2 separate regions of the Homo sapiens genome follow, and region 1 is linked to region 2. Evidence: promoter capture Hi-C in 16 types of primary human blood cells and fetal thymus (Javierre and others, 2016). All regions are on one chromosome and are shown on one strand. Each heading gives the region's core, a stretch centred on a gene start or on the middle of the fragment in contact. The rest is flanking DNA. Distances are from core to core; before and after follow the strand shown. Region 1 has its middle 4.5 kb from the start of ERCC6L. Region 2 holds the start of RTL5 (retrotransposon Gag like 5).

What was found. The method cuts DNA at HindIII sites, captures the fragments that hold promoters and counts their contacts. A CHiCAGO score of 5 or more calls a contact.
Region 1: a fragment that was not itself captured here is called in contact with the fragment with the promoter of RTL5 in region 2 in 1 of 17 cell types (neutrophils); the score reaches 5.9 in neutrophils.

The regions. Positions count from the first base shown.
Region 1 is chrX:72,239,962-72,247,160 of GRCh38, reverse strand. It overlaps a transcript of PIN4 not described here. Among named protein-coding and RNA genes, the nearest start is that of ERCC6L, 4.5 kb to the right of the region's middle. The HindIII fragment of the contact is 2,377 bases long and covers 3,619-5,995 here.
Region 2 is chrX:72,130,656-72,134,016 of GRCh38, reverse strand. RTL5 (retrotransposon Gag like 5) reads left to right here and starts at 2,102. Exons shown (of 1, transcript NM_001405151.1): 1 at 2,102-3,361. The coding sequence starts at 2,477. It overlaps NHSL2 (NHS like 2), which reads right to left. Exons shown (of 8, transcript NM_001013627.3): 2 at 1,783-1,938. RefSeq lists silencers at 2,022-2,081, 2,242-2,311. The HindIII fragment of the contact is 11,603 bases long and covers 1-3,361 here.

The DNA.
Region 1 (7,199 bases), core at 3,558-6,057, 110 kb before region 2:
GGTATGCTTGGCCCTCCCCACTTCCCTGATTTCTGGTCCTCATTATGTCTTTGGATATATCATTCCCACCCAAGGCCTCATTCTAGTTCTCTAACAGAGCACACAGTGCTCTCCTTTAGGATTACTAATTGACAGATCATCCATCCATCCATCCATCCATCCAACAACTATTTACTGGTCAGCCATTATGTGTAGGGACCATTCTGAGCTCTGCGAGGGTATAACTGTGAAAAAGACAGAAATGTTCTTCACAGAGCTCACATGATCACGGGGGAGCCAGACAGGTAACCAGGCAGCTACATTCCATGGAATAAACCCAATGATAAAGGCAGGATGTGGGATCACAGAGGATGACTTGTTGAGAAGGATCAGGGAAGGTTCCTGGAAGCAGGGAGACCTGCACTGAGACAAGAGGAGTGAATAGACAATAGTGAGGTGAAAAGGGTGAGTCCAGGCAGAGGAAACTGCATGTGGGGAGGCCTGGAGGCAAGATCTGAATAGCTGGAAGTTGTTCAGTTTGAGAAGAGATCGTGTGCATGTATGTGTAGGGGTTGTGAAGAAGTAAGACGTGGCCAGAGAGGTAGTCAGAGGCCAGATCAGGAAGGCCTTGTAAGCCATGGTAAGGAGGCAGGACTTGATCTTGAGGGAAACGAGGGGGCTTTGAAGGATTTAGACAGGGCCATGGCATGATCAGTTTGGTATTTTTGAAAGATGATTCTGGTTTTTGGGTAGAGATCAGATAGTGGGGGAAAGGCACAAATAGAAGCAGGAAGACAAGCCAGGAGGCTAGTGCAGTCGTCCAAGTGAGACAGAATGGTGGCATAGACTACCGTGGTGGCAGTGGAGATGGAGAGAAGTGATTGGATTTGGGATGTATTTTAGAGGTAGAGCCAACACGACTCACTGATGAATTGAACTTGAGGGGCAAATATGAGGCAGGCCTCAAAGACACTTCCCGGTTTCTGACTTGGACCACTTTGGGGGTTGGTAGTGCCATTCATGGAGATGGGAAATATTGAGAGAGCAGGTCTAGGGGAGAGAGGGTGAGTTCGGTGCCATGTTGAGTTTGAGCTTCCGGGGTGACATGTCCTATAGCCATTTTGCCATCTAGGTCCAAATCTCAGGAGAGACGATGAGGCTAGAGACAGAATTGTGAGGCCTTGAGAGCCACTGAGGTAACCCAAAGGGAGTGGAGGATGCCATGTTTTGTGCAGTGGGACTGCCTTGTCAAAGGTTTCTCTATCCTTTGGTGCCCACTTCACCCAAACCCCGAAAGGCAGGTTTAGAAGGCTTTCATCAAAGACTGTGAAACTTAGGGCAAAGACCCTGCAGGTAATCCTAACTCTTGGCTCCCTCCCTTCCTCCCAGTCCCTGTCATTTCCACAGCATCCTGGGCTGACTTGATTAGTTTCCAAGAAGGGTTTATCCATCCCAGGGGCCAGGCCAGCTGCCATTCTTAGGAAATTCAGTTTCTGGCTCCCTCTGCTGGCAGAGCTGGAGATGACTGTTGGCTGGGGCAGCCTCCATCCCATGGCTTTCCTCCTCCTTCCTGCTTCCCCTGGGAGATTAAACCCTCAGTCTCAATCTTCTATCCCCTACCCCCAAATCCCACCTACTTTATAAGAACCCTAGCTAGAAATGGGGTGGGAGAAGCCTAATTAGGTATCTGGGAAACACAAATTCTTACTGTTGGCAGAGCTTGGTGGCTCACACCTGTAATCCTAGCACTTTGAGAGGCTGAGGCGGGAGGATCGCTTGAGCCCAGGAGCTGGAGAACAGCCTGGGCAACATAGCAAGACTCTGTCTCTACAAAGTATTAAAAAAATTAGGTGGATGTGGTGGCACATGTCTGTAGTCCTAGCTGCTAAAGAGGCTGAGGTTGGAGAATCGCTGGAGCCTGGAGGATCACTTGAGCTCAGGAGTCTGAGGTTACAGTGAGCCGAGATCACACCACTGCACTCCAGCCTGGGCAACAGAGTGAGACCCTGTCTCATAAATACATTATTACTGTTTCTAATCAATTTCATCTTTTTTCCTGCCCCAAACCCACTCTCGGCTCCTTTTTTTTTTTTTTTTTTTTTTTTTTTTTTTGACAGGATCTCACTCTGTCACTCGGGCTGGAGTACAGTGGTGTGACTCTGCTTACTGCAGCCTCGAACTCCTGGGCTCAAAAGATTCTCCCATCTCAGCCTCCCAAGTAGCTAGGACTACAGCACACACCACCACACACAGCTAATTTTTGTGTTTTTTGTCTGATGAATCATGTTGCCCAGGCTGGTCTCAAACTCCTGGGCTCAAGTGATCCTCCCACCTCGGCCTCCCAAAGTGCTGGCATTACAGGTGTGAGCCACCACACTTGGCCCCAAACCCACTTTTGATCTCCTTGTGCATGAATACTTCATTTGGTTATCAAAAACACTCTTCCATTCTCAGTCCCCAAGAGCAACATTTTGCTGGCACTCCCTCCTCATATGCAGGGAAGCCATGATGTGTGCTGGAAAAAACGCTGGGTTGGGATTGAAGGTACCTAGGTTTGAGTACTGTTTCTGTCACAGGTTCAGGGTCTGACCTTGGACTGGTCACTTCCTTCTTTCCCATTGGCAGTTCCCTTACCTGTGGCATTAGACTGGAGTCCAAAAAACCGTTTCAACTCAGCATTCTAGGCTTGCTCCAACCATCTTAGCCTGTTTAGTTTTCATACACATCAAGCCCTCTCCTGCCTCAGGGCCTTTGATCATGCTATTCCCTCTGCCTGAAATGCCCTTCCCTTCCCTTTTTGTTTGGTTAACTCCTCCCTACCCTTCAGCTCTTAGATCAAATGCTACTTCCTCAGAGAAACCTTTTCCAGCCCTCCAGATTGGGTCAGATACCTCATGGTATGCTGTCATAATTGCCTGTAGTTTTCCTTCTGAGACCTCTTCATGTCTGTAATTTTCCAAGTGTTTGTGTGATTATTGTTTCAAGTCCATCTTCACCATGGAACTTTAAGCTCTTTGATAGCAAGGACTTGTCTGTTTTTCTCACCACTCTACCCCCAGCACCTGGATCCTTACGTGACCATCTTGTAAAGGCTCAACACATATTTACTAAATAAATGAATAAGTAAATGGATGAATTAATCCTTTTCTTCACCTGTCAGCTGCTTTCTATATCTAACTAGCATCATGTTAAAGAGCAAAAAGTCGAAAGCCAGACTGCCTGGGTTTGGAATTCTGCTTCACCATTCACAAGCTGTGTAAACTTGTGTAAGTTATTCAATCTTTCTGTGCCTCAGTTTCCTCATCTGTAAAAGGAGGATGATAATAGTATACACCATCTAACAAGGTTGTTGTTAAGGATTAAAAGACAGTGCATGTAAAGTCCTTAGAACAAGGCCTGGCACTTCAGTGCTATCTAAGTAATAGCTATTGTTCTTATTCGGCCTCATCCATCTCTCCATTTATGCATTCTGAACCCTCCCACAAAGCCTCATTATCATATTTCCGGCCTGTGAGTGCGGATGACTCAGTGTAATTTGAAGATTAGGTTGAAAAGTTTTGTTTTTTAAAATTCTTATTATGGAAATGTTCAATCATACACAGAAGCAGAGAAGAGGATAATGAACCTCTGTAACAAGCTTCAACAATTATCAACATTTTGCCAATCTTTGTTCATCTGTACTCTCCTTTTTTTTCCCTCTGTACTGGAGTATTTTAATGTAAGTCCCAGATGTCATATCATTTTGTCTGAAAATACTCCAACTTGTATTTCTAACAGATGAGGACCTTAAAAAAAAAAACAGCAATACCATTATCACCCTTTTAAAATTAACAATAATTAGGGAGAGCTTTTTTTGTTTATTTTTTTCTGAGACAGAATTTTGCTCTTGTAGAGGCTGGAGTGCAATGGCATGATCTTGGCTCACTGCAACCTCCGCCTCCTGGCTTCAAGCCATTCTCCTGCCTCAGCCTCTCGAGTAGCTGAGATTACAGGCACCTACCATCATGGCCGGCTAATTTTTGTATTTTAGTAGAGATGGGGTTTCACCATGTTGGCCAGGCTGGTCTTGAACTCCACCCACCTCGACCTCCCAAAGTGCTGGCATTACAGATGTAAGCCACCGCACCCAGCCTAGGAAGAGCTTTTTCCTTTTCTTTTCTTTTCTTTTTGAGATGGAGTCACCCTCTGTCGCCCAGACTGGAGTGCAGTAGTGAGATCTTGGCTCACTGCAACCTCCGCCTCCTGGGTTCAAGCAATTCTCCTGCCTCAGCCTCCCAAGTAGCTGGGATTACAGGTACGTGCCATCACACCCGCTAATTTTTGTATTTTTAGTAGAAACGGGGTTTCACCATGTTGGTCAGGCTGGTCTCGAACTCCTGACCTTGTGATCCGCCCGCCTCGGCCTCCCCAAGTGCTGGGATTACAGGCGTGAGCCACTGAGCCCAGCTGGGAGAGCTTTATAAACCCCATTCCCTTGAGAGACGCTGGGGGAATGGGAGCCCTTGATTGGGGTAGATGCATAATGAGGAACAGCAGATAATTAATCGATGTAAAGTGTTTTGAATGGGGCCTGTCACATAAGAGGGATATAGTAGTAACTATTATTTTGACTCTCTTTGATTCTCTCCATTTACCCACTCAAAATCCTCCCAATCTCTCTCTTATTTTCAGGCTGTGAGCCTGGGTGACCATTTATAAAGGAGGACTAGGAGCCTGGGCTGGGGAGTTTCCTGGGTCATCAGAGCCCTGGGTTGAGACCTGGGACTCCAGAAGGCACCAAGAAGGGCCCAAGGGAAGCAGACTACAGGACCGAAGGGGAGGGGAGGAGCAGCCAGAGCTGGGGAGTTTAAAGGAGGAGCCCTACAGCTGTGTGAAAATGGGGCTTAGAAAATCCAATAGCCAAAGGGCAGGCAAGCCGAGTGTTGGTCCTTCCTTCCCGGTGATCAGGGCCTTTAGGCATCACTGCCAGCTGGGAAGCAGAGAGGAGGTAGCCGGGGTTCCTGAGGGAGTTCTCTTTAGCTTTTCTTCACAGCCCACAATGGGGCATGCCTACAACAACCACCAGGGGCCTGCTTTGCTTCATCTTCAGTTCTCAACAATTCCCCGGATATGAGCGATGATGGTGGACCCTGAGCCAAAGCACAACCAGACATGGCCTTCCCCAGACTCAAGATGAAGATTTTTGTGCTCTCATCTCTCTTTTCCTTTCTGCAGAATTCTCTCCTACATCTTCTCCCCTATTCTGCTCTTCTCATCCTACTCATCCTTTGGGTATCCAGGGCGCCTGGACTCTCAACTCATCCTTAGCTCCTTTGTGCTGCTATAATAAAATGCCATAGACTCAAACTCATATTTTTTTTTTTTGAGACGGAGTTTCGCTCTTGTTGCCCAGGCTGGAGTGCCAATGGCGTGATCTTGGCTCACCACAACCTCCGCCTCCCAGGTTCAAGTGATTCTCCTGCCTCAGCCTCCCAAGTAGCTGGGATTACAGGCATGTGCCACCATGCCCGGCTAATTTTGCATTTTTAGTAGAGACAGGGTTTCTCCGTCAGGCTGGTCTCGAACTCCCGACCTCAGATGATCTGCCCGCCTCAGCCTCCCAAAGGGCGGGATTACAGGCGTGAGCCTCCTCACCTGGCCATCAAACTCATAATTTATAAACAATAGAAATGTATTTATTATGGTTCTGGAGGCTGAAGAGTCCAAGATGAAGGTGCCAGCAGGATTGGTATCTGGTGAGGGCTGCTCTCTGCTTCCAAGATGGTGCCTTGTTGCTGCATCCTCTGGAGGGGAAGGAATAGTGTGTCCTTACATGGTAGGAAAGCAGAAGAGCAAAAAGGGCCTAAACTAGCTCCCTCCAGCCCTTTCATAAGGCACTAATTTATTCATGAAGTAGGATCCCTCATGACATTACTTGCTAAAAGGCCCCGCCTCTCAATGCCACCATGGTGGGGATTAAGTTTCAACACAAGAATTTTGAAGGACATTCAGACCATAGCACAGCCCAATCCAAGCTTGCCTCCAGGAAAAGATGTGATTCAAACACTTTAGCAGAGTAAACAAGTTCCTTCATAACCTGGCCTTCAACTGCCTCATCAACCTCATTTCCCGCCACTGCCCTCTTCTTTCCAGTGTGACACAGCGAAACGGCACAGATTTGTGTCCATATGGACCTAGTATTGAATTCTGGCTCTGCTGCTTCCTAGCTCAGGAAGCTTAGATGAAGTCAATTTATCTCTCTGAGCCTGTTTCCACATCTGAAAAATGTGGATAATAGTATACTAAAAGGCCTCTTAATAAAGGCCTTAAAGTCATACAAACCAGGAAAATAGCCCATGTTCTCCAAGATCCCCCACCTCCCCCCAACCCTTTTCTTTTTTTTGAGATGGAGTCTTGCTCTGTCGCCCAGGCTGGAGTGCAATGGCACGATCTCAGCTCACTGCAACGTCTGCCTCCTGGGTTCAAGCGATTCTTCCACCCCAGCCTCCCGAGAAGCTGGGATTACAGGCACCCGCCACCATGCCCAGCTAATTTTTGTAGAGACGGGGGTTTCACCATTTGGCCAGGCTGGTCTTGAACTCCTGACCTCAGGTGATCCGCCCGCCTCGGCCTCCCAAAGTGCTGGGATTACAGGTTCAGTGAGCCACTGAACCCGGCCTCCAACATTCCTTTTAACTCATAACGGTCTATAAATTTTATGAAAAGCTTAAAATTCTCTGGACATATGATGTATGACTGGGCCAATAGGTGAGTTTTCCAATACTGAATGCTAAATTAGTGTCTTGAGGAGTCATGTCTGTGTTCTTAACAGTATATGAACAAGGACAATTTTTGTTGGCCCACAACCTCCTATTTAGTGTCACCCAAGCAAGCCACTTAAACTCAATCACATTTCCTTAAGCTCTAGGCTCTGCCTTCTTTTTAGGCTCTGCATTTGAAAATGACTGTATCTTAGTTGGTGCTTCTGAAGAAATGATGACCACAGCACTACTTCTTTTTTTTTAAATTATTTTTGTCTTCCTTTTATTATACCAAGTATGTGAACCTAGTTACTTATTTCTTAAATAAGAACTTTAATTTTTTTTTTTTTTTTGAGATGGAGTCTTTCTCTGTCACCCAGGCTGGAGTGCAGTGGCATGATCTTGGCTCACTGCAGCCTCCACCTCCAGGGTTTGAGATTCTTGAAGACCCTTCTCTCTTTCTCTCTCTCTTTTTAAGAA
Region 2 (3,361 bases), core at 853-3,352:
CCAGGACTCCTGCTCTAGCTGCCAGGCCTGACTTGCATTTTCTTTAGGCTATTTCCAGGTGTTTGAGCCACTGGATTTGGAAATGGAAAAGTGCTTGCTTCCCAGGACCATGAGGATCGAGGAGAAGAGAAAGTCAATAAATTCATGCTGTGGTGGTTTGGGGACCAAGCCCTTATCTCAATGATCCCCACCTTGAGTGCTCAGTTACGAAAAGAGGCTCAGAATGCAGACACCTTTTGCTACTTTGGACTGCAAGTTCCTCTCTTTGAAGCCCTGCAGCTCTTAAGGTTTTCTGCGACCCTACCAAGGAAATGACCTGTGTGAAGCAAGAAGAGATTTACACCAGGAAGTCCAATCTGGAGTTCTTTCTTGGATGTCAAGAACTTTTACTTGAGCCTTTGTGGGCCGTGTTCCCTGCACCTTAGTCCCGCTGTAAGTGATGTCAGGTCTAGGAGGGCTAAGGTGAAGGAGAGGGAAGGAGGAGGTAACAGCATAAAAGAGGCAGAAGTTCAGCGGCATCATCAGTGAGTAAGGATGCACAAGATTTGAATAGGGTTGATTGAAGTGATGAATTTGATGAGAATACATGAAGAAAGTGAGAGTAGAGAAGGGACATTCATGCTGTATGTACACTGAACAAAGACTCAGAATCACAGAGATTTGGGGTTGCTCTTGGGGTTCTTTGGTCCAACGCCTCATTCTGTGCCCAGACTCCCTCCTCAGCAGCCCTTCTAGGTGTTTCTTCAGCCTCAGCGCACACACCTGCAGGGAAGGGGAGCTCCCTCCCTCCCAAGGCAGCTCATTTCTTCCACGGACAGTTGGGGCTGTCAGGTGTGTCAGAAAGTTCTTCCTTATCTGGAGGTGGAATGTGCCTCCTTCTGGGTTTCCACCCACTGGTCCTAATTCTGCCATGGTAGCAACACAGAGCACATCGACTCTTTTTCTGTGTGGCAAGTCCTTTGTTATCTGAACACAAGGCTCATGGTGTCCCTTGGCATCTTGCTTTTCCAAGGTCACCACTGCCCTGGTAGGGGGTGGGGGTTATGGCTGTCATCCTGTTGGTGGCCCATCAGCAGTTTTCTATTCGCCATTAGAGTTAACCTTTATTAGTATAGATAAAGGAGTGCTGACAAGACCTCTTTTCATGCTCAACATCCACTGAGCACCTCTTGGCAGGTGGGGAGGGAATCCAGCCTTGTGCCAGGTGCTTCTGGAAACCTAAGGGTAGCAAGATGTGATTCTTTACATCGAGAAGCTCAGGCTTGGTTAGGGGGGACAAAATAGGTGACCTCTGGGTGCTGTGTATTGGGCTTACTTTGGTGAGGCAGTAGCTATCCAGGGGTTATTGCAAGAGCAGAGTGAGTGAAGCCCAGAGTGGGAGATCCTGCAGATGCCCCCTTTGTCTTCTGGTGCCAGGATCCCAAAGGCATGGGCGATGTGGCAAGAGGGGGGCTGGAGGGAATGTAGGCCCACATTGTGGGAGTCTCCCACCCAGCTCTCGGTGAATGGCATAACTTATGGCCCTGCCTCAGTCTCTGTCCTTGTTTCCCCATGGGCTACTGAGCTGAAAAAAGGGGCTGGGGATGGGGGGAAACAGCCCTGGAAATAGCCTCTTTCAGAATCATTAGGCTGAAAGGTGAAAGCTGGAAACTGCTTTGTCGATTGTTTTTAAACTCTCTGTCTTTATCTTGCTGGTCCCTGTCCTCTTTCTTCTTTGCCTCCCTCCTGCCGCTGCGCATCTCGCTTCTGGGCTCCGGCCGCAGCCCCCCTCCCTCTCGGTACCTTGCAACAGGCTCTGGAGATTGAGCTGCGCCTCCCGAAGCAGCTCCTCTACACTCGGGGGCCTGCCCGAGGAGAGGAACACGTTCACTGGCTGTCGCCATGACGACCTCGAGTGGGCAGTCGCTGTCGCATTTTCCCGACCCGAGTTAGCTGCAGCTAGGGAAGGAGAGAGTCAGTGAGAGGCGCAGGCGAGCTGGAGGGGAGCGGCGCGCGGCGGCCAGTGGGCGCCCGCGGTTCCCCAAGGCCCGCCCCTGCGTGGGGTGGGGGGAGTGCGAGGCTGCGCTTAAAAGGCGGGGAATCGCCGGCCGCAAGATTTTTCCTCGACAGATCCTGCCGCAGTCCGCTCCCTCCCGCTCCGCTCGCCCCTGCCCGCCCGCCCGCCCGGTCGCGCGGTCGCCGCCGCCACCGTGTCGCCCGCATCCTCCGCCTGGCGCCTCCGGGCCCCGTGCCTCCGCCCGCCCTCTCCGGCCCCGGCGACGAGGTAACGCGCCCTGGGCCGAGCCGCCGGGCCCTCCGCCCAGAGCGCCGCCCTCCGAGCTCGCCCCGGTGGGTGTGGCCCGGCCTGGCCCGTGCCCCGCTGCCGCACTTCGGTCCCTCCCGAGCCCCGCCGCCGCATTTCGGCCTCCTCCGGCCGCCCGTAGTTCCAGTTCCCCTTTCCCCACCACGGAGCCCCAGGGCCCCTGGGCTTGTCGAGATGTCTGAGGCGTCAGGAAATCTCAACAGCCTCCGCATGGCGAATGTGGCCCTGCGCGAAGAATTAAATGCCCTTCGCGGGGAGAATGCCAATTTGGGCCTCCAGCTCGGGAGAGCCCTGGCCGAGGTTAATTCCTTGCGGGGCAATGTCTCCAGCTACATCCGCTGGCCAGTACCCATAGTGCCCGTCCTTGCGGAGGAGAACTTGGAGTTCGCGCTCAGTGAGATCGAAGTCATTCCCGGGGGAGAACTGCCCTTCTTGTGCCGGCCTCCCCCACGCGCGGAGCCCGACTGTATCTCGGATGATCTTTTGATTAACGTGATCCAGGATCGCAGCACCCCCGACGGGCCCGCTGACCCCCCTCTGCTGCCCATCCCGCCCCCGCCGGCGCTGCCTCCGCCCGCGTCAAAGGAACCGCCCCCGCAACCCCCTCTGGCACCGCTGGAGCGGCCTGAGATAGAGCCCTTTTCAGGAGACCCAGTCTACCTGGCTGAATTCCTGATGCAGCTAGAGACCTTCATAGCCGACCATGAGGTTCATTTCCCCGGGGGCGCCGAGCGGGTGGCCTTTCTGATCTCCTTTTTCACTGGCGAAGCCAAGGACTGGGCCATCTCGGTCACCCAGGAAGGAAGCCCCTTGCATGCCAACTTCCCGCGCTTCCTGGATGAAATCCGTAAGGAATTCTGTGGCCCCATCCCCCCACGTGTGGCTAAAAAGGCCATTCGCAAGCTCAAGCAGGGCCACTGTACCCTCGGCAGCTATGCAGATGCTTTTCAGTTCCTGGCCCAATTCTTGTCTTGGGATGACTGCCGCCTCCAAAACCAATTCCTCAAAGGCCTGTCGGAATTCTTCCGCAAAGAGCTCTTATGGTCAACAGAAATGGCC